Linked DNA regions of Homo sapiens: region 2 is linked to region 1. The links are contacts of gene promoters, found by promoter capture Hi-C in human tissues and cell types (Jung and others, 2019). All regions are on one chromosome and are shown on one strand. The core of a region is centred on a gene start or on the middle of the fragment in contact, and the rest is flanking DNA. Distances in the headings are between cores, read along the strand shown. Region 1 holds the start of VSNL1 (visinin like 1). Region 2 has its middle 12 kb from the start of RAD51AP2.

Region 1 (5,602 bases), core at 1,984-4,483:
TAAACGAGTATAAATCCATTCTTCAATTCCGGTCTCTTTTCATTTTCTAATAATGACTTTCAAGTTTTCTTCCAATTTTTAAAAAATATCCCCATGCCTTAAGTTCCACCCTTCTTGGCTCATATATTTTACACACAAATTTTCTAATAAATAATATTACCAGGAGTTCCCAGGACTATGAGCTTAGACCTGTTACACTACTGGAATTTCACACTTTTACTGTCATTCTCCGTTTTCAATTCGTCCACGTCACAAAGCGAGTGAGAATATTACATGGAGTATTTTACACCTGAAAATCTACTGTTGGTATTGTTTGTTTGTTTGAATCTGGGAAGAAATAAGGTGGAAGTAAGGCTAGAAATTTCTATAAAGAACATAATTTGCAACTGAAGGAAGAAAAATAGCTCTTCAGTTGTTTCTGGTTAATTGAGGATTCTACCAGATACACAGGAAGGAAGAAACAAGCCCCTACCTACAGCACCTTCCTCCTCCTCCTCTATACCCCCCCACCCCCCAAAAAAAATCCAGGGTGTGAAAGTTGTAGAGTTGGGGACGTGGCTTTAGGTAACGGGACAACTGGTAAAGCTGATGGCATTCTTCACTCAACATGGGACAGTGTTCCAGTCCCTCTACCACAGGAGCGCCCGGCAGCGTAATCTCCGCTTTTTTGTGATCACCAGTGCCATCCGCAAATGCCTGAAGGAGGAACAGCGGGCTCCCTCACTTCTGAGGGACCCTGCCACATTCCTCCCTTCAAGTACATTCTCCCATCCTAAAGAGGGGATTTGCCTTCTGTAATTTAAACGATAATATTCCTTAGGAGTCTTAGAATTGGCTTTCTTACTGTGACTTCGTATATACAACTCGACTAAAAGGCATGCCAAAAAAATTAAACAGCAACAAAATATTAGAAGCTGAAAAAGATAAAGCTACATAATAGCTGGATATTAAACATTACAATATCGCATTTAGGACGCAAACAGCGCTGCAGTGCAAATGGAACTTTAAAAAATCTGCCCGCCCACGTAGACAAAGCTACTTTACAAAAGCGCACGCGTCGATATCAATCGTACCCTACAACAGAGCATGGTTTAAAGTATCAGTGTACATTTTTTCCTAAACACAAGTTGCAAGTAAGTTATCTAAAATCGAACACCGCCACGAAAGAGACCTCCAGGGTGCAATAAATAGGTATATCTCGTTGAAGTGGAGAAATGGCATCATGACCCTTTGGGTTGATGCAGATTACAGTGCGGAGGCTGTTCTCGAGAGAGAAACTAGAACTCAGCGTAAAATGCTGTAGTAGGGGAAATCGACCAAAGACGAGATTTTGAAAGCCTTTTGAAAGTCGTTTTTCTAGCTAAAAAGAAAAAGTGACTTATTCAGGACTGACTCCCCCTGCCAGTCCCAGGAAACAGGAGCAGCCCGGCGCGCCCGGGAGCCCCGCAGCGCAGTGCGCACTGCGGCTCCAGAGCGAAGGGCTGGCGCCCGCCAGATTCTAAACGTGCTCGGCTGCCGCAGCCCGCCGGGGCCGCGCGCCGTGGTCCGCGCGACTCCGCGCTCCGGGTTTCCGCGGTCACCAGCACTGGCGGAAGAGCCCTGCCGAGAGGGGACAGCCGCGGGCGGTGTCCCGGGAGTCCCGAGAGCGCGCTCCCCCTTTGCGCAACCTTCCCGAGGCGTCCTGCCCGGGAAGCCAGTTCCTGGGTTCTGGGCTGGCTAGGTTGGCAGCGAATGAGGCTTAGGCATCACTGCCTGAGGCCCTCACTTAGCATGTCGACAGCCACAGACTTGTCTGGCGGAGTTTCTCCTGGTGCCCACTTAAGTAGTCTCAAGTTTGTTCAAAGCTGGACTCCTCGACTTGGAACCAGGAGCAGCTGGAGATTTGTCAATTTAGAGCTCATTTGCCACGGGAGACGCTCTTGGTGTCCCCAGCACCGAAGGGTAGGTCAACTCTACAGTTTTCCTGAACATGATAAGGTGTGTGAAGACGCTGTGCAAATTGTACAGCGCTCTGCTTAAGGAGAACCTCGATCTTCATCTCGCCCCCAGAACTTCCCTCCCTTGAAAATAAAACTCCCACCTGAATGTAAAGCCCAGGAGGGGGTTTTGTTAACCGCACTTATTCCCAAAGCATAAAGGAATGTCTAATAGTTTTGCAAATGCTTCCATGAATAATTGTTGAATGAGTTCATGTACAACATACACACTTGAGGAAAACTGGTCTGGTTGGGAACATCTGGGAATTCTCCTTGCTTTTCTGGTAGGGAAGCGACCGACCAAACATTTATTGGGCACTACTCCTTGCCAAGCCTTCTAGGCTTTGGCAGGCCAATGGGGAGCCGGGGGGAGGGCTGGCAAACCTGTTAGTTGTTCAAGGACACAAAGGGGGCTTTATAAGATGGCCTAATCAGAGCCCTTAAACGTGGGTTCGCAAAATGGTTCATTCCCGCCCTTTCACCCACCCCCTCCCACCCCAGACGCAAAGCATATGTTAAAAACACTTAAGTGCATACAGAAGGCGCTTGGCTCAGGGTACACAGGGCAAGAAGCCTCGGATCCCAGCTCCCTTTAACACACATTTTTTCAACGCCGTTCTGGACCGAGACTGTCCGGGGCACTGGGTGCTGCAGGACCCGGCTCCCAGTACTCCTAGCAGAAGACCCTCTGATGAAATGGCCCATGACAAAATGACCACCATAACCGTTCCTTCAGTAAGCCAGGTAGACGTGCTCACAGCTTGCTGGGAAGTCTTCTTTCGGAGATTTCTGCAGTTTTCTCCTTCACCTTACAGCCTAACAAAGGGTGGGCCGGGGGTCGGCTAGGACAGAAAGCAGCGGGAAAAGCGGCTCCACGTGTTCCATCTCTGGCCTCGGCCTTCAGCCCCCAGGTTCGGTAACCACTGGGCGTGGCGAGTCCGGGTAACCCGCAGTCCCTCGCGCCCGTCCAGGTGCGGGTTGCTCCGGTAGCCGGACTCCCTTTTCCTATATACTTTCCTTTTGAGCTTTTGCTAAAATCTGGAGACGTGGAATCCACCCGCGGAAACTCCGAGCCCCTCCGACTGAGCATGCGCCATCGCCAGGCGGCTTTTGGTCACAGGCTCCCGAGTTCTCCTAGCTGGGGCTGCGGAGCTGGGGGGAGGGAAGAGAGGAAAGGGGAGGGGGTGCCTGGAGAGGCGGAGGCTCGCGCGCCTGCGCATCCAGCTCCAGGGACCCTAGGTTTTCTATGGGATTCCCAATCTGCAGCAGAGATTTACCCGAGCGTGTTGCGGCAGCGGCTGGGCTTGCAAGGCGCGATCCAAGAGGGATTTAAGCAGCCCAGAGCTCCAGAGAAAAAGAGAGCGAGAGAGAACCACACACAGAGACGGCTTAAGCGTTTACCCGAATTAAATATATATTTTTAAAAAGAACTGTTGAGTTTTATCATTTTCGTTAAGTGACCGTGCGCAGCGCTGTAACTGTAAGTGGAAAATACAATCTTCGTTGCATTTCTGCATGTGTAGTGCAACCAACTGTCAGAGAAATGCTTTGGCTATTGTCACATACTTTGCTTTGCATAGATGCGTCTAAATGCATGGGGACAATTTCCTTGCTTAATGCTGGCGATCTGAATGTGCTCTTAGTCCATGGGGGATCTTTTGGAATATTGGGGGTGGGGGAAGGGGGAGTGTTTATATGCGGCGTGTTTGGGGGATTGTCTTAGACTAGATTTAAGACAGGTGAAACTGAGATGCTTTCTTAGTTTGTCTTAGACAGATTTAAGTAGCTAATTGACCGATTGTGAAGTTTTCCGGTTGCTGATAAAACTATTGAGCGGGTACAGTCGAGTAGCAACCTGTCATCCGTGGGATTGGTGCACCATTTTTCTCACTGTGGAAGGGCAGCAAAGGTGTTTGCTAAGTAAAACTGAGTGGATGAGATTGGTATGGAAATCATGGTTGATCTCTGAGCGGGATGTTAGTGTTTAAGATCCACGGAGTCAGGCGCAAAATGAGCACATTTCTCTCAGTATTCAGAAATGAGTAGATAATTTTTTTCGTCTTTGATTTTTGTCACAATGGTGAATGGGCAGAAAAGGGAAAGATGCTCTACTGCACTGTCGATTTTGAACGGAGTCACAGGCTCGGTCGCTGAATGGGGACTGTCAGACCCAAACTAGTTACCTGCCTTTGCATTCCGTGTTCGCCATCCGGAATCTGGGGTTAAAAAATGTAAATCAAGGTGTGTTACATTTGGTAGTATTTCTTTAAAGGATAAAAGGTCGTTTTGTGTTTTGAGTTAAAATGGGTTGTTCCTTGCCCAGAAACTGGAAGAAGGGTCTTTGCAAGGTCAAACCCCGGGTGGAAATCAGAATGATGAATACCCTCAGGGGTACAAGAATGTGTACGTGGAAGGAGCGAGGAGAGGCTGATGCTCCCTGCATGGTGGAAATGATGAGTGCTCCGCATTGCCTGATCAGTGCCCTGTGAGATGCCAGAGTGGGAATCCATTTTTCTAGAGTTGCCCTCCTGTCCGTATTTTGGAAACTAAAATAAAATAGAATTGTTGGTGGTTGTGGAGAACACTAAGTACATACTATTTGTGTATCACTTTCCAGTTGAAGGCAAGAAAAGCTGGGGAGTTTTATTTCTACATATTAATATTTATTTTAATTTCTAAAGGAATTTCAGGTTGAGACAAATTTAAAATGAAACTCTTGTGAAAACACATTTTACCCCCACTATCATTTAAACTGCCTACGTGTGTTTGTGTGTGTGTGGTGGGGGGGAGTAGGGGGTGATCCTACATCATTGAACAACTTACTTTTGAATGCACTCTCATTAAGCCTTGGGTATTTAATAACCCCAGAAAATGCTGCACTGAAGCAGGTTGGCAGAATGGGCATGAGGCAGAAAGATGAGAAAAAAGCATGGCTAGTGCGTGCTGGATTTCCACGAAATAAGCAAATCCAATTTTGGGGATGAAATGAAATAAATTTTCCCTCAAATCGGGTGTGGGGGCCATCAAATAGGGCTCTTTGGCCCTTTGATCAGTCCAACCATTTGGAACCCCTCAAAGGAATTTATAATTTATTTAAATGGATGAAATTTGTAATTGAAAATTCGAGAAGAACCTCTCATTGGAAATCCACAGTATAAATCATACTGCCTTGTCTATTCCTTCTTTCCTTACTCCAGGGCAGAAGGACTAATCATTTGTCATAATTGAGCCATACTCCCTGTCATCATTGAGCATTGGCATCAGTTCGATGAATGGTGCAGGTGTTGACACTGCATTGATAAAGAGGGGTGGTAGAGGAAAAAGGGGGGAATTAGGTATCAAAACTGATAAATGCTTGGTCTTGGAGTCCCTGGCTCATAGGTTGACAGAGAGGATCAAGTTAGGCAGAGACCCTGTAAGGTATCTAGTCCAAACCCCTTGCTTTGTAGATGAGGAAACTGAGGCCCAGAACCATGGATGTAGAGAAAAGTCAATTAACTTCTAGTCTATGGAATAAACAATTAAAAAGTAATGTTGAGTGGAAATGTTTCCTTCTCTCTTTCATTTTCAGCAGTCTCAGTGACATTGCTGCAGACTTCAAATAAATAACTGTCTGCTCTCCAGCA
Region 2 (5,543 bases), core at 1,649-4,148, 34 kb before region 1:
GCCACTAAATTAGAAGTAAATAAAAAATTTAAAAGCAAATAAAGTAATTTTAAAATGAAGTACCAGCTGGAAGACTGATCCACCCAGCGGGCTATAAAAGAATCCCTTGGTCCTGCTTTTGGTTCTTGCAAGCTGAAACCCTTTGTTCCTACAAATAAGTGGCCTCCAAATGTTGATTATTGGCACTATATCTATATATCTTGCAGCAAGTTGCCCTTTTTCATGAAGGCACTTAATAACTGATAATGGTGGCAGTAATAACAAGGATATTTATTCAAAGGGTAGCAGTTAGAGTAGCAGATTTGCAAGATATTATTTTTGTACACCAAATTTTAAGACAGGAAAATTGTTTTGTGAAACATTCTTTTTTGCCTATTGATGAAAATACACAAATATTTTCATAATATTTTGTCTAAAATCAGTACTATTGATGGATAAAAAATGTGTGCAACTCAATTTGAGTAGGTGTTAGGCATATTAAAAGGCATTTATACAAACTATGTGAGGAAAAAGTGGGATTGTGCTTTGAAGCTGACCTAAGAAGTAGAGGAAGACAGGGTCAACAAGAAAAGGCCAAAGACAAAAATATGCCAAAAATGCCTTTTGTATTTAGTTACATTTTCTTCTGGAAACCAAAAAAAAAAAAAAAAAAAGCTATAAGCTTACTAGATTTATCAATAAGAATATAAAGCCAAATATAAGATGCCATGAAATAAATGCAATATTAACATTCAAATATAATTAACAAACATTTTTAGTATAAAGCTCTGATACACTGCTTTAGAGACTGCAAAGTTTCTAAAATGATCTCTATGCCCAAGCTTAGATAGGCAAAGATAAAATACAAAGCAGGTGTAATAAATGCTTGATGATGCATTAAAAAGAAAGCACTATCATTATTCAGGGGACTTAGCAATCATAAAATGTTCAAGTAGTTGGGAAAAGCAGTATAAAGGTGGTAGTTTAAGGACAGGTGTGATTTAAACAGGTGAAAGAAAGTGCATCTCAGTAGAGGAAAAAATTAGCAAAATGGGAAAATATTAGTTGGGAGAAAGTGGTGCATTAATAGACTAGCCAAATTGTAGGGAAGTTGAGGGGCGGCCAGTTGGAAAGTTCTATTAGGTAAGGCCACTTTATAGAGGCTCTAAAGAATGAAGAAGGATGCATTGGTTAAGGGTTCCTTAGAAGGAAGAAGTAACAGAACTTGACAGTATAAAATAAATGTCAGGTGGTAGAGTGAATGATGACTGATGAGATATTAGACAACTGAGTTGAAGTTGTTGACCTATAGCAATGTGGAAATCAGAGCAATATAACAGCAGTTAAGAGCTTTGGCCATAGGGCAGACTGCATGGGTTTGAATTCTGAAAACATAATACTTTGTGACCTTAGACAAGTTATTTAACTCACAATGTAAAATGGAGATAGTAATGGTATCTGACTGTGAGGTTATTTAAAGATTAAATTAGTATTTTATATATACAGATTTTAGAATAGCTCCTGAACCGTGGCATGTATTTCATAAACATTAGTTTTTTTAATTATTGTTATGCTGCCAAAATTAGAATTTGAAAGGTATAATTTGTTTCCAAAGCATAGAGTTTGTTGATGTAGTTGTAATTGATATATAGAGAGATATAATAGACATAATTTGTTTCCAAAACTGTAGAGTTGGTAAATGTGGAGGCCGTAAGTGATCCCATGAAAAATGAATGAGATTTCTAAGCGTAAAACACAGAAATAAAGAGCAAAAGTCCATGGACTATACTTTGAAGTTTCCTTATATCTGAGGATTAGAAAGCAAAAGAGATACAATTGTTAGGAAAATAAAAGGTAGTGTATCATCATAAAGTGAAAGTTTCAAGAATAGAAAGCAGCTAACGATGCAAAGAAATAAAAGAAAATGCAAACTGAAAAAAGGCCAAAGTCCTCTGCATTTTAAGAGTATTCTTTCTGATGAGAGAAGGCAGGGCAGGCAAAGAGATAAAAACTCTGAGGAGAGAGGAGAAAGAATGTGTGCACATACAGATGAAAGCTTAATAAAGAATTGAGTAGCAATTTGAGCTAGTGGATGTATAGTAGTGAAATAAAGGAGAGAAATTGCAATCATAATTAGACAGGCAGCAAAATCAATTACAAAGTTTTTTTTTAAAAAAAACGAAGACATGGACTGTGTAATTAAGCGTACAGATAAAATTGAATTTGTTGGAATATGAATACTTTGTTAAGATAGTGTTAAAGATATTTGAAATAGTTAAAAATCAGAATTTCTAAAATTGCTTCAGAAATTAAGGTAATTTTAATGGAAATGTCAGATTCACTAAGCCCAGTTTACTTTTCAAGTTTCTGTTTCTTAACATTGAAAAAAAGTTTTATAACCTTAAAATTGTAACACGTTAAAATGCATAAATTATTAAATTTGTTAAGTATACCATAATGACCAAATTTCTTTATAGAAATATATATTTAAGGAAAAAGTAAGATACAAAGACAATCATGCATATTTTAAAGTATAGGTATAAAACAGATAATAACTAAAAATACCCTCTATGCTTATTAATAATAAAATATTATTTTTTCATAGGAGCAAGTAGCTGTTGACAATTGTTTCCTCCATCAACAGAAACTGAAAAGTTGAGTGTGGAAAAAAAGAAAAGGACTTATACTCACTCTTTCTTTTTTTGTTCTTTATCCTCTGTATTTTGTACCATGTCTAGGTATTAACTTTTCAAAAATGAATCAGTAAATAAAATTTAAAAGACTGTTTAAAGGGGAATTATAAAAGTAAAAAGGCAAAAATTAAAATTTGGAAAACTCTAATAGATGTTTTTTACTAACTCAAAAGGAAAAGGCCATTAGAAAATTTAAATACGGATGTTGTTTACAAAGATTTTAAGTGGCATAAGAGATACGACATTGAATTTTAAATATGTACCAAATTTTACTATGGTTTGCCTTATTTTTTTCTTCATTAAAAAAGACTAATTTTAAATTCAGACACGTTAGGCAGCTAAATGCCTGAAGAAGATCACATAGTAAATGATCTAGATCGAAGCTTTGTTTTCACTTCTCTGGTTCAAGGAGAAAATACAAAAGAGAATAGCAAAGAAGAGGGAAGAGACCTTTAAATTCCAGGAGGGCACAAAGGTATATGATTCAAGAAGTTTATTCAGCATGATATGTTTAAGACATACTCGCTGTTGGTCTCATTATTCAATTTTTTGTCAATAACATTTATTGAATACTTACGTCAAGCACTGTCCTAGGCACTGGGGATAGAGTAATAAATATAACACAAAAGACTTTTGCCCTCACAGAGTTTAAAACCTAGTGGCAAAGACAGGCAATAAACAAAATAAAAAGTAAAATATGTAGTATGTCCATAGTAAATTATTAAGGAGGAAAAACTGAAAGCAGGGAAAGGGAATATGAATGTTAGCAGGAAGGAAAGGCCACACTTTGAAGGTGACATTTGAATAAAGCTATTAGGAAGGTGGTACAAGGCAAGCTATACAGATATCCTAGGAATAAGCATTCCAGGAAAAGAAAGTAAGTGCAAAAGCCATGAGTCAGGGACACACCTAATGTGTCTAAGAAACAGGAAGGCCATTGTGGTTTCAGAGGAATAAACAAGGGGAAAATACAGAGAAGAGTTTAAGGAGGCAAGAGAAGGTCAGATCATTATAGCCCTCATACATCCAAGTAAGAATTTTGGCTTGTATTCCGAGTGAGAAGGAAAGGCTTTGGAAGGTTTTGAGCTGAACTGGGATATGCTACAACTTATATTTTAAAGAATCATTCTGGCTACTGTGTTCAGAATAGACTGAAGGGGAGCAAGAACTGAAGCAGAGAGATCAGTTAGGACTCAATTGCAATAATCCAGACAAGAGAAGCCAAAGGCAATAGGATTGGTTGACAGGCCAGCCATGGGTTATGAGAAAAAAAATAAGTGTCAAGGATGACTCCAGCATTTCGTCTCTAAAAGAATAGAATTGCCATTTACTGAAATAAGAAACACTGTGGAAGGAAGAGTTTGGGAACAAATATCAGAAGCTCAGTTTGGGCCATGGTAGCTTTGCAATGCCTATTAGTCATCACAGTAGAGAGACTGAGTAAAAGTCATGAGTCTTGAATTCAAGAAAGAGATCCACAGACTTCTTTTTTTTTTTTTTTTAATTATGAGTTTCTCCAAATTATGAAATTACAGAAGAAATTACAGAGACCTTTAGATCTTGAGTTTATTTTTTGCCCATTGCCTGGATAGGTGGTATGGTTTAGTGACTGTTCCTTTCTGAATATGCTGTGTTTTTAAAAGAATATGTTAAATAGGCTTATCTAGCAAGGATAGTTTCAAACAATGATATGTGTTACAACAAAATGGGAAAAATATAATTTCAGATCCTCTTGATATCTTATTCTCTTTAATCTAAAAGATTATTTTTAGCAGGATAAACTCTGCCACAATCTATTATGTGTCAATGTAAATGTGTAATGCCTGCATTATTAAAAAGATTTCCCAAAATGATGACTGACTCTATAAACATTCTTTTATGTGGCAATTTAGATGGAACTAAAGATCAATTTCATTGCATATTTTGTTTTCCATTTTGCTTAACTAAATAAGGTTAAACAGGTAACTCAGAGATTTGCATACTTAAGGTACAGACTATCCACATCACTTTTTCAAGATGATTTAATATAAGGCTCTGCTTCTCTTCTCATGCTCACAGTTATGCATCCAGAGGCTTGTAACTTTAAACTGAAGTAACGCAGAGATTCACTCTGAAGTTGAATAAAAGCAAGTACTTTTTAAAGTGGCTTTTTATCCTTTAAATATTTCCTCTGATCTGAAAGCATTCAACTTTTACATTTTAAGAGCAAAGATAAAAAAGAAAAAGGTGGAGAGAGGATGGGTATCAGTTTAAAATGTCTTCCACCACGGATCCCATGCAGCCTTTCCAAACCTGGCTATGAAGACACAAAAACACAAGAAGAGCTAAAATGTTGCCTTCCTCCTATCCTCCAACTTACTATTTCCGGAGAAAATAACTCACAGACCTAGGCAGGAAAGGGAAGGTCCTGTGTGCTTATGTTGTGTATTTGGTTGGAGGTAGTTAGGGAAGGAGTGCTTGAGGAATTACACTAGCAGGAGCAAGTTTTGCATTTGGGGAGGTGTCATCCCTAGAAGAAAAGTTCTAGCGATCAAAGCTAGTAATAGGGCAGTGGCATGGAAAACCGTTGTAAGCAGCACAATATGTGCTAGGAGTTTAAACTTATCACATGTTCAATCAGTTCAGAATATGAAAGAACCAGCATTGAGTGGTTCTAAGTGAATATACTATTTATTAGAGAAAAGACAAAAGTATCCATAAAAGCCTTCATGGTACTAGGAATAAGAATAGAAGCATATAAACCAGTCCTAGAGATACAGAGCTGAGAACAAAATTAAATATTCACACAGAGTGACAGAGAACAGGGCAAAGGACTAAGGTTGTGAAGACAGATCTTGATTGTGAGGAGATTTACCTTGTATGATTACAGAA

What was found. Contacts are between HindIII fragments. The study calls those that stand out against the background at their distance.
Region 2: a contact is called between a fragment that was not itself captured here and the fragment with the promoter of VSNL1 in region 1, in 1 of the 25 tissues and cell types used here (aorta).

Annotation. Positions count from the first base shown.
Region 1 is chr2:17,537,463-17,543,064 of GRCh38, forward strand. VSNL1 (visinin like 1) reads left to right here and starts at 3,234. Exons shown (of 4, transcript NM_003385.5): 1 at 3,234-3,456. It also overlaps a transcript of RAD51AP2 not described here. RefSeq lists an enhancer at 1,539-1,658. The HindIII fragment of the contact is 10,007 bases long and covers 1-5,602 here.
Region 2 is chr2:17,503,357-17,508,899 of GRCh38, forward strand. No RefSeq gene overlaps it. Among named protein-coding and RNA genes, the nearest start is that of RAD51AP2, 12 kb to the right of the region's middle. The HindIII fragment of the contact is 4,314 bases long and covers 742-5,055 here.